2 separate regions of the Homo sapiens genome follow, and region 1 is linked to region 2. The links are contacts of gene promoters, found by promoter capture Hi-C in human tissues and cell types (Jung and others, 2019). All regions are on one chromosome and are shown on one strand. The core of a region is centred on a gene start or on the middle of the fragment in contact, and the rest is flanking DNA. Distances in the headings are between cores, read along the strand shown.

Region 1 (5,908 bases), core at 708-3,207, 1.1 Mb before region 2:
TGTAATTACAGTGAGTATATATATTATTGTAGACCCGCCCCTGAGCTGTTACTCTCTAACAGGCTGCCTTTGGGGTAACCCTGCTCTGCAGGAGCAGTCATGGAGCTGTAACATTGCCACCTCAATAAAGCTGTTTTCTTCTACCACCAACTCGTTCTTGAATTCTTTCATGAGTGAAACCCAGAACTTTTCTGGGCTAATTCCCAATTTGGGGCTTGACTGCAACAATTTGGTTAATCACCTGCAGAGGTCTGATATAATATAGTGCTTGTGGGTCTTTAAGTACATGGCACCATGTAGTTAAAAAGTGCATGGCCATAAAACTGTTCTTTGCATGAACTGTGATTGTCAATTGCGTTGAACTGGGAACACTTGACTGTCACAATAAATATGGGCAGAGTAGCACTGAAACATCATACTATACTTGTTCATTGAAGCATAAGTAAACTTCTTTGTAACAACTGAAGTTCTTTTGTGATGTGGTACTGTAATAGACTTCCCAGTCTGCAGAAAGGAAAGACAAGAAGAAATGGAAAGAAATAACTTTCTTCTAAAGAAATAATATTGAAATTGTACACATCACCTCCACTTAAATTCTCTGGTAAAAACTTAGTCAAATGGCCACACCTTTACTTCAAAAGAAGTTGGGAAATATAGTTGTTGACTGGGTGCGATCAAGTGTTCTATTACTCAAGAGAAGAATGGGAGAATGGACACTGGGGTTGTGGGACAATTAACAGGATTAAGTAATTGATTAAGCCATAATAGTTAAACCTTGACAAAACAGGACAACACGGGAGCAGGTATGGGTATTGACCTAGACTACCAACATGAACTAAGAAAATAATCCGGAGCTGACCACGAAACCTCGTCAGATGGATGGCCTGCAACTTAGATTTAAGGATCACCCACATGCCCGTGACTCCAGTTTTCTGAGGCTCTGTTGAATTTTCTCCATATGCTCTTCCTTTTAGGTGTTCATAAAAACTTTATAAGTCTGTGTTGACTTAGTATGTGCTGTGTATGACTAAAAGTACAAAAGTGGAAGATTTGGACACAGAGAAGAAAGGAAGTGGGATGAAACCTTGGGTTTGGCTGTGGTTCAGAGTGACCAGGTAGCATACAGTTCACAGACCATCTTAGGCAGAGGTGGGGAAAAGTGAGACCTTTACTCAGAGTTGGAGGATGTTAGGTAGAAAACAGTAGGAAACTGTATAAACTTCAAAAGAGGATGTTGGGGTGACAGGGAGCAAGTGTGGTGCTAATCATGAATATCAGCCTTTGGTTCCATGTGACCTGTGTTGAGTCCTCCATGCTCAAATACTCCCTCTTTTATGGTTGCCATGGTACCTGAAATTCCTTTGGATTACATCTTTTTCCCAGTGTCCTCCACTAAAATACAGACATTCTTGGGAAAATGAAGTGTCTGATGATGAACATTATTTGGATTGTGAACATGCTTGTAGATTCTGTTCCTTCCACTGACGGGAAGGACTCTAGAAATAGGATAACACCGGATCTAAAGGGGAAGAGGCAACGCAAAGAGGAAAATTAGGCATGGTATGGGTAAGGAGGCTGTAAGTTCCAAATAAGTATTCACAGGTTTCCTGGTCTTTTCTCCTCTTACCTCAAACTACCTCTCTATTTCCTCTAAGTTACTAATGTCGTGATTTGGTGTAAATACTTCTCTGTTTTTCTCCATAGTCAAACAAAACATATTCACAAATACTGGCTTTCTTTGTAGGCTCAGACTACATATTGTCATGTGAGATGCATTATTAATATATTGTGGATATGCCTCCAAGTCAATCTATATGAAACTCTTTTTTTCTTTTTTTTTTTTTTTTGAGACTGAGTTTTGCTCTTGTTGCCCAGGCTGGAGTACAGTGGTGCGATCTCGGCTCACTGCAACCTCTGCCTTCTGGTTTCAAGCGATTCTCCTGCCTCAGCTTCCTGAGCAGCTGGGATTACAGGTGCCTGCCACCATCCCCAGCTAATTATATATTTTTAGTAGAGACGGGGTTTCTCCATGCTGGCCAGACTGGTCTCAAACTCCTGACCTCGTGGTCTGCCTGCCTCAGCCTCCCAAGGTGCTGGGACTACAGGCATGAGCCACCACACCCGGCCCTATAAAACTCATCTTTAATTAGGCATGTACTGATGTAAAGAATAGAAGTACAGATCTGTATTCACTTAATGATGGAGACACATTCTGAGAAAGATGTCAGGTGATTTTGTCGTTGTGTGAACATCACAGAGTACACTTACACAAACTTAGGTGGTAGAGTCTACTATACACCTCAAGTATACATTATGGCCTATTGTTTCCAGGATACAAACCTGTACACTACGTTGCTGTACTGAATATAATAAGTAATTATGGCACAATTGTGCGTATCTAAGCACAGAAAAGGTGCGGTAAAAAGAGAGTATAAAAATAAAAAATGGTACTCCTGTAAAGGGCATTTACCATGAATGGAGCTTGCAGGACTGGAAGTTGTTCTGGGTGAGTCAGTGAGTGAGTGGTGAATGGATATGAGGGCCTAAGACATTACTGTGCACCACTATAGACCCTATAAACACTGTACACTTAGGCTACATTACATTTACAAAACATTTTCCTACAATAATATATTAACCTTAGCTTCCTCTGTTTTACTTTATACATTTTCTAATTTTTTAACTTTTTGACTCTTTTGTAATAACACTTAGATTAAAACACAAATACATTTTTGTACAGCTATACAAAAATATTTGCTTTCTTTATATTCTTATTCTGTAAGCTTTTTTCTATTTTTAAAATGTATCATTTTTTAAACCTTTTTTGTTAAAAACGAACACACAAACATCTACATTAGCCTCAGCCTAGAGAGGGTCAGGATCATCAATATCACTGTCTTCCACTCCACATCTTGTCCCACTGGAAGATCTTCAGGGGCAATAACATTCATGTCATCTCTGATGATGATAATGCTTTCTGCTGGAATACTTCCTGAAGGATCTGCCTGAGGCGGTTTTACAGTTGACTTCTTTTTTTAGTAAGTAGAAGGCACTAAACATGGTGGCTCACACCTATAATCCCAGCACTTTGGGAGGCCGAGGCAGGCAGATCATGAGATCAGGAGATCAAGACCATCCTGGCTAACACGGTGAAACCCCATCTCTACTAAAATGCAAAAAATTAGCCAGGTGTGGTAGCACGCACCTGTAATCCCAGCTATTCGGGAGGCTGAGGCAGAGGAATCGCTTGAACCCGGGAGGCGGAGGTTGCAGTGAGCTGAGATGGGCCACTGCACTCCAGCCTGGGCAACAGAGTGAGACTCGGTCTCAAAAAACAAACAAATAAACAAACAACAAAAAAAATTAGAAGGAGTACACTATAAAGTAACAACAAAAGCTAAAGTATAGTAAATACATAAACCAGTAACATAGTCATTTATTATCATTATCAACAATTATAGATGTACTATACATAATTTTACACACTATACTTTTATACAAATGACAGTGTAGTAAGTTTGTTTACTCCAATGTTAACCACAAACAGGTGAGTAATCCCTTGCACTACAATATTAAAATGGCTACAATGTCACTAGAAGATAGAAAATTTTCAGCTCCATTATAATCTTATGGGCCCACCATGGTATATGTAGTCTATTGTCGATGGAAGCATCATAATGGGACACGTGACTGTATTATAATTTATTGACTTGTTCCACTATTAATGGACATTCAGGTCCTATTTTTAGGTATGGGCCACTGTGTCTTCTATTTATTAAATTATGGTTTCCCCAGACTTTTTCAAAGTGTAAAAGAAATTACAGAGTAGGTACTTCTAAAACTAGAACATTACAGAATCTGAGTTTATTTAAAAATCTCCAAACTTTATAATAGCATTCTAAAATTGGAGGTTCTAAAGGAACTCCAGCAGAACAAGAAGTTGATGATTGGAGGATCTAGGTCAGCATTTCTCTTTTGTTTTTAGAAACAACTTTATGGAGGTATAATTGCTAATAAGCTAAACATTTAATAAGTTGATCAGATCGAAACCATCACCACAATCCATCCATCATCATAAAGTTTCCTTGTGTCCTTTGTCATTGCTCCCTCTGGCTCCTCCCTGCCTACTTCTCTCTTTCCTCGCCAGCAGTCACTGAGTTATTTTCTGTCACAATCTATTTGTTTGCACTTTTTTTTTGCATTTTTGTTGCATTTTCTTGAGTTTTATGATCCCATACAGTATGTACTCCTTTTTATCTGATGTTTTCACTTAGCATAATTATTTTGAGATTCATGCATATGACTGCAAGCTTTGTTCATTTCTTTTCATTGCTGAGTAGCATTCTGTTGTATGGGTATGCCACAATCTGTGTATTCATTCGCCTGTCAATGAATATTTGGATTATTACAGTTTTTACATATAAAGATAAAGCTGCTATGAACACTCACGTTCAAGTCTTTGTATGGACATATGCTTTCCTTTCTTTTAGGTAAGTATATAGAAGTAGAATGGTTGGATCACCTGGTAAGTATACGTTTAACTTTTGAAGAAACTTCTGCATTTCCAAAGTGGCCATACAATTTTACACTCCCAGTAGCAGTGTATGAGAGTTCCAGTTGCTCCACATTCTGGTCAACACTTGGTATGGTCAGTTTTTAAAAATTGTAGCCATTCCATGGGTGGATCACGAGGTCAGCAGATTGAGACCATCCTGGCTAACACGGTGAAACCCGGTCTTTACTAAAAATACAAAAAATTAGCCCGGGTGCGGTGGCGGATGCCTGTAGTCCCAGCTACGTGGGAGGCTGAGGCAGGAGAATGGTGTGAACCCAGGAGGCGGAGCTTGCAGTGAGCCGAGATTGCCCCACTGCACTCGGGCCTGGGCAAAAGAGTGAGACTCCATCTCAAAAATAAATTAAATAAATAAATAAATAAATAAATTTTTAGCCATTCCAATTAGTGTGTAGCTATCTCATTGTGGTTTTAATTTGCATTTCCTCAATGACTAATGCTGTTGAGCATCTTTTCATGTGCTTACATGCCAACTGCATATTTTCTTTGGTAAAGTATATGTTCAACACATTTACACACTTTTAAAATGTTGTTTATTATTATTCAGTTTTGAGAGTTCTTTATATACTCTGATATGACTTTATCAAATGTTCAGATATTTCTTACATTTTGTGGCATTTTTTTTCATTCTATTAGTGGTATCTGTTGAAAAGCAGAAATTGTTAATCTTTATAAAATCCAATGTATCTATGTTTTTCTATTTATGGGCTGTGCTTTAATTCTAAGTATTTTGTATTTTTGATTGGCTATTGTAATTTGTAGTTTTTAAAAAATTAATTCATGATTGTTGCTAGTATATAGAAATATATCTGATTTGTAAATAGTTATCTTGTATTATGCAAACTTGATAATTCATTTATTAGTATAAGTAGCTTTTTCATAGATTCTATTAAATTTTCTATACAGGACTCAACGTTGTATGTTTTAAAAAAGAACAGTCTAATTCTTCTTTTCCAATCTGAATACCTTTTATTTCTCTTTTTTTGACTTATTGAACTAACTAAAATCTTCAATGCAATATTGAGTAGAAATGGTGAAAGTGGATTTCCTTGTCTTTTAACTGCTTTTTGGAAAAACATCCCCTACCCCCACTACACTTTCTAGACTCTGGTAACCCTCATTCTCCCTCTGCCTCCATGAGGTCAACCCTCTGCCCCCATGAGATCAACTTGGATTCATGAGACAAACTCCACTTACTCATGATGTTTTTGGATGTGCGATGTATTGTTGAAATCAATTTACTGAAATTTTGCTTAGAATGTTAGCACTGACATTAATAGGAACTGTTGTTTTCTTTTCTTGTAATGTTTTTGTATATCAGTATCAAGGTAATGC
Region 2 (6,354 bases), core at 1,351-3,850:
GGGGGACTTCAAGCAAGAAAAGCAGATTTGGGAAGATGAATACTTTGGATGAGGTTTAAAAAAATTCAGGCCAGGACGGGCGTGGTGGCGGACGCCTGTAATCCCAGGACTTTGGGAGGCCGAGGTGGGCAGACCACCTGAGGTCAGGAGTTCAAGACGAGCTTGGGTAACATGGTGAAACCCCGTCTCTACTAAAAACAAAAACTTAGCCGGGCGTGGTGGTGTGCTCCTGTAATCCCAGCTATTCGGGAGGCTGAGGCAGGAGAATCGCTTGAACCCGGGAGGCAGAGGCTGTAGTGAGCCAAGATCGTGCCACTGCACTCCAGCCTGGGCGACAAGAGCGAAACTCCGTCTCAAAAAAAAAAAAAAAAAAATTCAGGCCAAGCTTGGTGGCTCACGCCTGTAATCCCTGCACCTTAAGAAGCTGAGGCTAGTGGATCACCTGAGGTTGGGAGTTCGATACCAGCCTGGCCAACATGGTGAAACCCGTCTCTACTAAAAACACAAAAATTAGCTAGGCGTGGTGACGCGCGCCTATAATCAAGAAGCTGAGGCGGGAGAATCGCTTGAACCCGGTAGGGGCAGGTTGCAGTGAGCCGAGATCGCACCACTGGCACTCTAGCCTGGGCGAGAGAGTGAGACTCCGTCTCAAAAAAAAAAAAAAAGTAAAATACAAATTACAAAATTTCATAACTGTTGGACCTCTTTTCCTTCTGCTAATGGAAGTAAAACCATTATTATATAGCAGCCTAGCCAGACTTTTCTAAAGAGAAGAATGCCTCAATTCGGAAAAGCTTTATAAAAATTGCTTCTACAAAAGTTTAATTAATAGATTTAAATGCTTTGCAATGTTGGCCAAATACGAGGGTAGTTTTAAGCCTATCCACTTCATTTCCGAGTTCAGAGTGAGTCTGCAGTTGTAATTATGTGATTAATCAATTCAAGGCAGAGTTTTGTGATCATTAAAAATGAACCTGTAACTTCACCATAGAATTTAACTTAAGAGAAGTGGAATGGGAAAAAGAGCAAGTCATATTAGAACTCTGCCTGCATGATGAGAAACAGTGGGTAAGGCACGACTTATTATTTCGCAGTAATTCTACATAGGAAATACAGATCTTTCAGAGTTTTGTTTGGTTTTGACATTTGGCACATGTTTTAAAATAAGCACCATTTAAAGTTCCTTAAATAAATCATTTCTTTTTTGGCCTACTGAACTAAAAACATTCCACAATACAATTACAAAAATAACTTTCCGGTTTTCTCAGACAACCAGTTTATAAGAATAATTCAGAAGTTCACAAAGGATAATTTGATTTACATAAAGCTTAAAAAACGGACATAAAAGGTAAGTGAAAATGACCGATTAAGAAGACTGTTAAGGTCCTTTCTAACTACAAATTGTCATGCATTGTAATTAAACACAACTACAATGTTAAACACCTGAAGGAAAAAACCCACATAGAATTAATACTGCCAAAGAAAATTTCCGCTATCTTCAGGCACTTGAGTAAGCTATGTTAAAACGGGAAATGGGCTTTAAATTATCAACATTCACATCGATTACACTATGATGCATGAAAACTCCATTCTACAATGAGTAAACGCCCAAGAAAGGAACCCAACCAACTCCAATTGCCCTGGTGCTCGTAAGAGGTTTATACCGCACAAGGGGTAAAACAACGGTAGAGTCGAGCAAGCCTTTGGGTTACAACAGTCCTTGAACACTTGCAATTGAGAACCCGCAATTCAGGAAGGAAGACACTAAGGAAACTCTGCACTGTCATCCAGGGTGATCTGATTCAGGTTCAAACCAAACGCTCAAGGCGACAAGTTGTAAACAGAAGACACACTTCAGCTCAAACCACCCAGCGAGAGGAAGCAAACGTGCCCATCGCCGATGTCACAGCAAATCCCACCTTGCTGGCGCTCAGTCGGGAACGCTAGAATTCTCGAAGCACAGGGGCCCGCGATTCAGCGGCCCGCTACCACTGGGGCGGGGGAGAGCGGGGCTGGGCGCGCCCGCCCCCGGCCCTGCAGCCCCTCGGCTGGACTCCCCGCGGCGCCGCGAGCTCGGGCCCGAGAGAAAGGGCTGAGCAGAAAGGGCGGCCTCCGCCCAGAGACCGCGCCCGATACCCTCCGCAAGGTCTGGGACGGGGATCCACCGAGGGTCCGGGGACTGGGGAAGGCGTTTTCCAGACCCAGTCAAAGCCCCACCCCGTCAGGGCTTTCCCTCAAGACCGAGTGCGTTCCCCTCACGCGTCACATGTGTAACATGCGTTACACAACCCGTCAGGTAAGGGGCGCAGGGATCCGGGGTCGCCCCTCCTACCCCCGGGCGCCGTCGCTCGCATCTCCCGCGGCCCGGGGAGAGCAGAGGGACGGCCGGCCGGGACATGAGGACTGCAGCAGGGCGCTCACCGGCTCAGGATGGGGCGCTGGCGGGGACCGCGCAGAGCCGCAGCACCCGGCTCAGCACCTGGATCACGGCGGATCCCTCGCCGCCCGCCGCCCGGTGTTTTCATACAAACCCCGGTGGCAGGCGAGGCGGAGGCGGCGGCGGCGGCAGCTGCGGCGGCGGCGCTGGAGGCGGCGGAACCTGTCCGCATCCCGGGCAACGTCAGCGCGGCGCCCCGCCCACCGCACGCCTTGCCAGCCGGCTCCCAGCACGCGCAGGGAGTGGGGGCGGGGCGTGCGAGGCCGCGAAAGGGGCGGGGCGGAGCGCACGCCCTCTTCCCGCCGCGTCCCTTGTTACCTCCGTGCGCGCTGCGCCCCGCCTCTCTGCGCGCCTGACGGGAGGGAGCGCGCGCGTGGGGGCGGAGCGCGCACGGGAGCGGGAATTAGGGGCGGGTGTTCCGCGCGCTGCCGGTCCCTTGTACCCAGCAGCCCCGGCCACCGCCCCTCCGTACCGAACTGCGAGCGACTCCCCACGTTCTTCAAGTCATCTTTCTGTACACTCCCAACGAGGGCCCCAGCCTTTTCCCGGAACTAAGCCCGCGCCCACCCCCTCCCCCGCCATCAATCAGTCACTTTCTTAGGAAGGGTTCTTAAAGCTCCCCACGTGATCCCGGGGTCGCATCAAACGCTGGGGACTGCGGTAAAGCTTAGACCTTTCCTGACCTCAAGGAGGGTCCATAATAAGAGGCTGGAAGGGACATGCTGTTACTACAATCGGGCTCCCAGAAAACAACAGGATTGCACCTTGTGGCCAAATCTCAGTAAATTAGATGCCTAGTGCTGCAGCGAACAAAATAGCATGCTGATTTACTGTTTTTTGAAAAAGTGCCTGCATATAATCAAAACGGTAATGCTAAGTTGGCTACTGAAGGCAAAGGCGGAATGTTTTATCTGAGCCAAAGTAATGTGTCAGAGAAATTACTAATACACCCCCTTCTGTTTTGACTGTACTTCAGTGTACTGCAATGTATTGCAAATAAATACTGACATCATTTACTTTTTCACGTTGCACAAGAACATGTTTGCTACTGTTTATGGTAAGGAATGTAATATCACAACTAGATAAGGGAATGCATTGAGAACTGTGAGATTTTTGTTTTGTTTTATGATCTTGTTCAAATAAAATTAAGCAGGTGTGAAAGCAATTCAAAAAGTAACCCAAGGTACACCACAGTGCTTCTTACAGTTTGCCCTTGGTAGATGTCTTTATTCAGATGAACAAGAAACTGCCATTTTATAAACATCGTAGTTTCCCTCATCGTGAGCACTAAAAGATAGGTTACGGTATTTAAAATAATTTTGAAACAACCACCACCCCAAACCACCCAATCAGAAACGTATTATCTGAAAATACCCAATAATAATGTAATAATTTTACAATAATGCTAAATATGTATGTAATATACCTGAAACTTTTCTTAAAGAACATGTTTCTAAATGAGTCAACCTGCAATATAGGAAGATATTATGTGGATGTGTGTGTTTGTGGAATTTGAATCCCACTTTCACAAGCACTGTTAGCATAGTTTGATGACCACAACACAGACCCAGGAGATTAACCCACACAAGATAAATAGCAGCATTACATAGCTTTGAAATGATTCCAATCACATAGTTTGCCACAAGAGTGAGTGATTTATGTTTTGCGGTAATTAAGAACTTAGAGCTACTCCCCCACCCCCTGGGAATGTGACATCACTCTTCATCAGATCCCACGTGTATGAAGTTGAAATAAACTTCACCTCTCCTAGCTAATGTGACGTTACACCTTATCAAACACCATATATATGTTACTGACCTCAACTACAGGATTTCGAAATACATATAAACTCAAGAATTTGCAAGATACTTTGAGAGCTCAGCGGGTGGCAGATCGCGTGCTCTGTCAGCCACTTCCCTGAACGCTACCAGCTCAGGCTGCAACAGGGCCACACCCTGTTAGCCTTTAAGCTTTGAAGCCTGTCCACCAACACTGGCACAGCCCTCTAGCATCGTGGGACCTTGCATATCCTCACCGATCTCCTGTATGTTGGACACCATCTCTCCCGAGAACCTCAGCCTCCAAAAGGTAAAGGTACACCTCAGTTGTTTTTCTTTTTCTTTTTCTTTTTCTTTCTTTTTTTTTTTTTTTTGAGACAAGACTCTCACTCTGTTGCCAAGGCTGTAATACAGTAGTGCAATCATGGCTCACTGCAGCCTTGACCTCCCAGGCTTAATGAATCGTACTACCTCAGCCTCCCACTGAGTATCTGGGACTACAGGCACACGTCACCACACCTGGCTAATTTTTTTAATTGTTTTTGTAGAGTCGGGGTCTCCCTAAGTCACCCAGGCTGGTCTCAAACTCCTGGGCTCAGCAGTCCTCCTGCCTTAGCCTCCCAAAATGCTGAGATTACAGGCATTAATACCACACCCACCTCAATCCTTAATCAGACTTTACTTTCCACAGAGGTCTGCTTCAATCTTAATTGAACAACTAGGTTTTAATAGTTTTGGAACTCACTCACTATGTAGTTAATAAACATCATCTATGGAGTGTATTCCCTGTGAAATTATTCTCTTAATTCTCTGCCTCTATACATTGTGAACCTAAGAAAATAAATTATCTTCACATGGCAATAAACCATGTTGATCCAGGATTGTTTCCTCCTTAGCTCAGCTAGATCCAGGTTCTTGTCTCAAGACCAGGAAAAATCAGGTACACGGACACTTGAAGAGTGAGTGAAGTAGAATTTGTTAAGCAAAAGGAAAGCTCTCAGCAAAGAGAAGGATCCTGAAAGCAGGTTCCCAGTTGCCCGCTTCACAGTTGAATGCAGGGGCTTTTACATGCAAGCTGATGGGGCCAGGTTCCCTATTTGTGTAAGGCGCAAATTCCTGGTGGCTCCACCCCATTCCCCCAGTGTGCACGCGGGCCCTTAGTCCACTGTAGGCATGTTTAGGCAAGACCCCTGTGTAAGTTCCCTTATCTGTACGAAACATGGGTGGGAGCTTCTCTGGGGACCCTTTGCTTACTATCTGCCTAAAGCAAGCTGGCTGACGCCTTTCAATGTGATTCATGAAATCATACTTTTATCTCTCTACTTTGAACCATACAAAACACAGAGCTAATTTCTATTGGTCACTCTTTCCACAGCTTCTTCAATAAACCTTATTATGATATATAAAACTAAATGTGAATGGCTGATATAGATCAGAGTTGGACTATATAATGGAATTCATTTAACTTGGATTCCTCTATTCAGTCCAGCCTTGTAGGTACTCAGTAAATGTTTTCCTGTTTCATTTTTGGACTAGTCATGGGGAGAGAGAGGTGAACATTGGAGCCCAGCTATCTCTTTCTCCTCTTCTGCGGATCACCTTATCTCCATGCTTTTAATAAGGTAACGTACAAAATGCAACACACTGTATTACAAAACTCTATAGTCATAAGGCTTAGAACAGCCATGGACCTCTCAAAAAGTCTACAGCAATTTCCATCTAGAACATAAATGTTAGGAGAGCATGATTGATCATGAGGTTTCTGAAACATAGCTGGTCCTCTGGAGTTAGAGGATTGATTGTTATAACTATTCAACAATCAACCATTTATTGAGCACCTCTTATGTACCAGACAGTCCTCTTGAGATCTTCTGAGGAATTAAGCAAATGATAATGCTCAACAAAATACCTAACCACTGCCTTGTGTCAAACTAAAAGGTTTACCACAAATAGACCACAGAACAGAATGTAGTACAAACGACCAGAGCTGAATCTAAATGAATGCGGCAAAACTGGGAAATGGAGGGAAGCAATCTGGGATTTCACACATTGAATGGTTCTGATGCAAAATCTTTTACAGTGGCAAATGGTTTCCATGGTAAACTGTGAATGATATATAATTCGGGGTCAGAAAAATTG

What was found. The method cuts DNA at HindIII sites, captures the fragments that hold promoters and counts their contacts. A contact is called where the count stands out against the background at its distance.
Region 1: a fragment that was not itself captured here is called in contact with the fragment with the promoter of AGTPBP1 in region 2 in 1 of the 25 tissues and cell types used here (dorsolateral prefrontal cortex).

The regions. Positions count from the first base shown.
Region 1 is chr9:84,659,551-84,665,458 of GRCh38, forward strand. No RefSeq gene overlaps it. Among named protein-coding and RNA genes, the nearest start is that of NTRK2, 7.2 kb to the right of the region's middle. The HindIII fragment of the contact is 3,178 bases long and covers 369-3,546 here.
Region 2 is chr9:85,739,354-85,745,707 of GRCh38, forward strand. It overlaps AGTPBP1 (ATP/GTP binding carboxypeptidase 1), which reads right to left and starts at 2,601. Exons shown (of 26, transcript NM_001330701.2): 1 at 2,422-2,601. RefSeq lists an enhancer at 1,615-1,764 and silencers at 1,935-2,254, 2,325-2,924. The HindIII fragment of the contact is 2,695 bases long and covers 1,061-3,755 here.